2 separate regions of the Homo sapiens genome follow, and region 2 is linked to region 1. Evidence: promoter capture Hi-C in 16 types of primary human blood cells and fetal thymus (Javierre and others, 2016). All regions are on one chromosome and are shown on one strand. The core of a region is centred on a gene start or on the middle of the fragment in contact, and the rest is flanking DNA. Distances in the headings are between cores, read along the strand shown.

Region 1 (2,867 bases), core at 368-2,867:
ACTCAGAAATTCAACACACTGAAATCGAAAGTACTAGAATGATCTACTTACACAAATCGTCTTTTAAAACACTACATGACACTTGAGTAAACCAGCCATCAAACAGGACGCGGCTTTTGGATGATCATTACCTATAGTTGGTAAGAACTGAAAATTTTTAGGGGTAAAATTTAGTGTATACAGTACCTTATTATGCAGCAGAAGAGGCTAGTAGGTCGAATCCTGCCCAAGAGGTTTTGCAATTTTCTCTTTAAAAAACACCTACTTCTCCCGCATCCCCAACACCCACAGCGCTCCTTAAAGGAAAATGGATACGGATGCCCCATCCCTTTGGTTTCTCAATGCATTTTACTTAGAAAGAGGTCACCTAGTAAGACCCATGTGGTGAATGTGCACCCGGGCGGGGCATGAGGGTCCTTGGAAAGCACCGCAGAGAGGGCGACACCGCAAACCGCTGTCCCACGCGACCCCCGGGGCGAGCCGGGGCAGCGCTGCACTCGGTGCGCACCGGCAGCGTCTGGCACCCACGCCACCTGCTGCTCCCGCGGGTCTGGCAGGGGCAAGGGGCGGAGTGGGCAGGATCTTCAGATCAAAGGAGACCGATGCTTGCCCACGGCATCCAGCGTAGGAGCCGGAATCGAGGTGACCCCAGATTTTCCCAGAGTGTCTGTCTCCTTTCCCTTCTCAGAACTCCGAGAGCCAACGCTAAGGGGCACCAGAGGCTCAGACTGCGGCGGCGACTCGCAGGCACCCAGCTCGCCCGCGGCTGCGGAGGTCCTCGGAGGAGCCCACCCGGGAGGGGGTCTGGACGCAGGCAGCGGGGGCAGAGGGAGGGTCGAAGCCGCTCCAGAGGGTCCAGGTCCGAGGAGGAGCCCTCGGAGACGCGGACGGTGCGCGCGGAGGGCAGGGCTAGGCAGTGACCCCGGGTGGCACAGGGCTTACTGTTTCTTCCTAAGACTCTATGAGGCCACTTCTAATCGTTTACTTTAGAATAGGAAAGAAAACATAGACAAATGGGTGGCTGTCACCCAGGCAGCTACACGGTCGATGCAGGTGCACAGGCGTGCGCGCCATTCTCCCGTGTCACACAGCAGGACGGAATAACTGCACGCACTGGGAGCGATGGATCTCGCGGTCCGGGATCCGAGACGCATTCAGAGACCAAATGTCACCTCATCCCTCCTCTAGCCAATTCGAGCTTCCTCCGCGGACCCCCACCTTCCATCCGAAGTGGCTCGGTCCTTAGTTGAGAGGACTCTGCCCAGACCCTCGCACCAGTAGAGACCTCTGCCCGGGCGCCTGCAACTCGGACGCTTCCCGGAGCCAGAGCGTGCGGGCGGCGCGGCCGCGAGGAGCCTCACCGGCCATGCCGTCCGCAGTCTGACTTTTATTTTTCTCTTCAGTGATTAAAACAAAATATCGTGGACAGGGGGACAGAAAGGAAAGAGCAGGCGCCTGAGCCCGGGGAGCCGGGCGGGGGCCCCCGGGCCCCGCGGCCCCGCCGCCGCCCGCCCCCGCGCGCCTTCTCCCTCCTCCCGGGCCGAGCCGGCGCCACTGCGCCAGGATGGAGCGAGCTCGGCGCGGGAGGAGATGACGCAAAAGCCAGCGCTCCCCCCAAAAAAGTGTTTCTCCAGGACGAAGATGGCGGCAACTTAGCCCGCGGACTGAAGATGACTGTGGCTCTCGGGAGGCCCAGCCCAGGCGATTCGGCCCGGAGCTCCGCGGGAGGCGGCGTCAGCAGTCGGAGCCCCGGCGGCGGCGCCCGCGGGCGGCCCTGCGGCAGCGGCGGCGGCGGCGGCGGCGGCGGCAGCACTTAGAGCGCGGGGTGGGGGGTGGGGGGGAGGGAGCGCCCCGCCGGAGGCAGCCCAGGCTCCGGACTCTGGGAGAGCCAGCGCGGAGCAGGAGCGGGAGGCGGAGGAGAAGAAGAAGGAGAAGGAAAGGAAGGAGGAGGAAGAGGAGGAGAAGAAGAGGAGGAGGAGGAGGAGGAGGGGAGGCGCTCCGGGCGCCGTCAGTGGGCAGCGGAGGCGCGGCATGCCCCTGGCAGGGGAGAGCGGGCTGGGCTCCGCGGGGCCATGGGGACCCGCGCGCTGACAATGCCTGGGTGACCGGAGCCGCGCCAGCCACCCTGTCACCTCCACCATCGCCCCCTGCACCCAGCCTCGCCGCCGGCCACCAGCACCAGCCTCCTCCGTCTCTCTCTCTCTCTCTCTCTCCATTATTGTTTCCCACTCTACAGAGGATGGGGTCGGCTGATGATTAGGAAGCAAGTCAGACCTTCCTTCAAAGCCTGGTAATATTTATGTAGGCAAAAGAGACAGAGAGAGATAAAAGAGAGGGAGAGGGAGAGAGAGAGAGAGGAGAGAGGGAGAGGGGAAGAGAGAGAAAGAGAGAGAGGAGAGAGAAGAAACGGGAGGAGGGGATAAGGAAATTAAACCCTTTAAGTCAATGCATATTGTGGTGACACCGGCACAGGCGCCCTCACGGTGGAGTCGGCCAGGGCTGTGCGTTCCCAAAATATGACCAGGGGTGCTTGGATGTGTCGGCAGTATGACGACGGCTTAAAAATCTGGTTGGCAGCACCCCGAGAGAACGAGAAACCGTTCATCGATTCCGAGAGGGCTCAGAAATGGCGACTGTCTCTGGCATCTCTCTTGTTTTTCACAGTCCTGCTCTCTGATCACTTGTGGTTCTGCGCCGAGGCCAAGCTGACCCGGGCCCGGGACAAGGAGCACCAGCAGCAGCAGCGGCAGCAGCAGCAGCAGCAGCAGCAGCAGAGGCAGCGGCAGCAGCAGCAGCAGCAGCGGCGGCAGCAGGAGCCCTCCTGGCCCGCGCTCCTGGCGAGCATGGGGGAGTCCTCGCCCGCCGCC
Region 2 (2,867 bases), core at 145-2,644, 520 kb after region 1:
GATAAGGGTTCTTGATCATCCAGTTTTCCCAGTACAATTTTTTGAAGAGACTCTTCTTTCCATATTGTGTAGACTTTGCATGCTTGTCAAAGATCACTTGGCCATATATACAAGAGTTTATTCCTGGGCTCTCGATTGTGTTCTTTTGGTCTATGTCTTTGTCTTTATGCCAATACCATACCCTTTTAATTACTCTTAATTTGCAATGTGTTTCAAAATCAGAAAGTGTGAGGCCTCCAGCTTTTCTCTTCTTTGTCAAGATTGTTTTGGCCATTCAGGGTCCTTCCAGATTCCATATGAATTTTAGAATTTTTTTCTGTTTCTGTAAAAAATGCAATTGAGATTTTGATAGAAATTGCATTGAATCTATAGATTGCTTTGAGTCGTATAAACATTTTAATATATAAGTCTTCCAATGCAAGAACAAAGGATGGTTTTTCATTTACTGATGTCTTTAACTTCTTTCAGCAATGTTTTTGAAGTTGTCAGTGTACAAGTCTTGTGTGTGTGTATGTGTGTGTGTGTGTGTAGCTGCTATTATAACTGAGATTGTTCTTCATTTTTAGGTTGTTTGTTGTTAGCACATAGAAACACAACTGATTTCTGAGAGTTCATTTGGTATTCTTCAACTTTACCGAATTTGTTTTTATTAGTTCTAACAATTTTTTTGGTAGAATCTTTAGGGATTTTTATGTGTAAGTTTATCTCATCTGTGAAAAGAGATAATTTTACTTCTTCCTTTCCAACTTGGATGATTTTATTTATATATTTTTCTACTATTTTATCTTGGTAGGCCTTCCAATGCCATTTTGAATAAAAGTGGTAAGAGTGGGCATTCTTGTCTTGCTCCTGATATTAAAGGAAAAGCTTTGGTTTTTAACCATTGAATATAATGATACCTGTGTCCTTTTCATATATGACCTTTATTATGTTACAGTAATTTTCTTCTACGCTTAGTTAGTTGAGTGTTTTTATCATGAAAGCATGTTGGATTTTGTCAAATGCTTTTTCTGCATCATAGAGAGGAGCATGTGATTTGTGTTCTTTGGTTGATGTGGTGTATTACATTGATTGATTTTTGTGTGTGAGCCATCACGTACATAAGAAATAAATCCAACTTAGTCACAGTGTCTAATCTTTTTAATGTACTTTTGAAATTGATTTGCTAGTGTTTTGTTAAGGATTTTTGCATCAATATGCATCAGTGATATTGTCCTGTAATTTTCTTTTCTGTTAGTATCGTTGTCTGGCTTTTGTATCAGAGTAATGATGGACTCATAAAATGGATTTGGAAGTGTTCCCTCCTCTTCAGTTTTTTGGAAGAGTTTGAGAAGGATTGGCAATTATTCTTTAAATGTTTCATAGAATTCTTCAGTGAAGCCATCTGGTCCTGGGCTTTTATTTATTGGGAGGTTTCTGATTACTGATTCAATTTTCTTAATAGTTATAAATCTGTTGCGATTTTCTAATTCTTCATAGTTCAGTCTTGGTAGACTTTATATTTCTGGAAACATATCCATTTTTTTAGGCTATTCCATTTGCTGGCAGATAGTTGTTCTGTAGTCGCTTATTATCTCCTTTTTTGGCACCAATTGTGATGTCTCATCTTTCATTTCTGATTTTAGTTACTTGAGTCTTCCCTTGTTTTCTTAGTCTAGATAACGGTTTGTCAATTTTGTTAATCTTTTCAAAAAAAAACTCTGTGTTTAATTTTTTTTCTTCTTGTTTTTCTGTTCTCTACTTTGTTGATTTCTGGTCTAATTTTTATTCCTTTCCTCTGTTAGCTACCTGTTTACTTCGTTCTTTTTCTAATTCCTTTAGGTATAAATCTTATTCATTTGAGATCGTTCTTTTGATTGCAGGTTTTTATCACTATAAACTTTGCTCTTGGTGCTGCTTTTGGCTGCATCCCATAAGCTTTGTTAGGTTGTCTCAAGATATCTTTTAATTTCTTTATTAGTCCATTTTCATGCTGCTGAAAAAGACATACCCGAGACTGGGCAATTTACAAAAGATAGAGGTTTAATGGACTTATAGTTCCCCTTGGCTGGAAAAGCCTCACAATCATGGCAGAAGGCAAGGAGGAGCAAGTCACGTCTTACATAGATGGCAGCAGGAAAAGAGAGAGAATTTGTGCAGGGGAACTCCTCTTTTTAAAACCATCAGATCTTGTGAGACTTATTTACTATCATGAGAGCAGCATGGGAAAGACCTGCCCCCCATGATTCAATCACCTCCCACTGGGTCCCTCCCACAACATGTGAAAATTCAAGATGAGATTTGGGTGGGGACAAAGTCAAACCATATCAATTTCCCTTTCAATTTCTTTATTAACTCAGTTGTGCAAGTGTGTGCTGTTTAATTTTAACACTGTTGGAAATTTCCATTTTTCCACTGCTATTGATTTCTTGTTTCATTTCATTGTGAGCAGAAAAGATAATTGGTATGATTTCAATCTTCTTAAATTTGTTAAGATTTGTTTTGTAGCCTAATGTGTGATCTATCCTGGGAGACATTCTCTGTGAACTTAAGAAAAATGTGTATTTTGCTTTTATGGGGTAGAGTGTTTTATACATGTCTGTTAAGTTCAATTGGTTGTAGTGTCGTTATAGTCTCTGTTTCCTTAGTTACCATCTGTCTGATTGTTCTATCCATTGTTGAAAGTGAGGTGTTAAGATCTCCTCCTGTTACTGTGTTAATGTTGAATTCTCCCTTCACTTCTGTCAACGTATGCGTCATACATTTGGGAGCTTTGATGTTAGATACATGTATTTTCCCCCACTCTTACTGCTTTCCTTTTTGAGTCATTGACTCTTGTTTTCTATGGACATGCTCTGATTCCTTTTACATTTCCTTTTATATCTCTT

The links. The method cuts DNA at HindIII sites, captures the fragments that hold promoters and counts their contacts. A CHiCAGO score of 5 or more calls a contact.
Region 2: a fragment that was not itself captured here is called in contact with the fragment with the promoter of NALF1 in region 1 in 1 of 17 cell types (endothelial precursors); the score reaches 5.8 in endothelial precursors.

The regions. Positions count from the first base shown.
Region 1 is chr13:107,866,246-107,869,112 of GRCh38, reverse strand. It overlaps NALF1 (NALCN channel auxiliary factor 1), which reads left to right and starts at 1,617. Exons shown (of 3, transcript NM_001080396.3): 1 at 1,617-2,867. The coding sequence starts at 2,517. It overlaps LOC124903206 (heparan sulfate glucosamine 3-O-sulfotransferase 4-like), which reads right to left and starts at 2,440. Exons shown (of 1, transcript XM_047430833.1): 1 at 1-2,440. The coding sequence starts at 2,216. The coding sequence ends at 1,653. RefSeq lists an enhancer at 581-1,149. The HindIII fragment of the contact is 11,168 bases long and covers 1-2,867 here.
Region 2 is chr13:107,342,747-107,345,613 of GRCh38, reverse strand. All of the region lies in intron 1 of NALF1 (NALCN channel auxiliary factor 1), which reads left to right. Among named protein-coding and RNA genes, the nearest start is that of SNORD31B, 23 kb to the right of the region's middle. The HindIII fragment of the contact is 1,050 bases long and covers 870-1,919 here.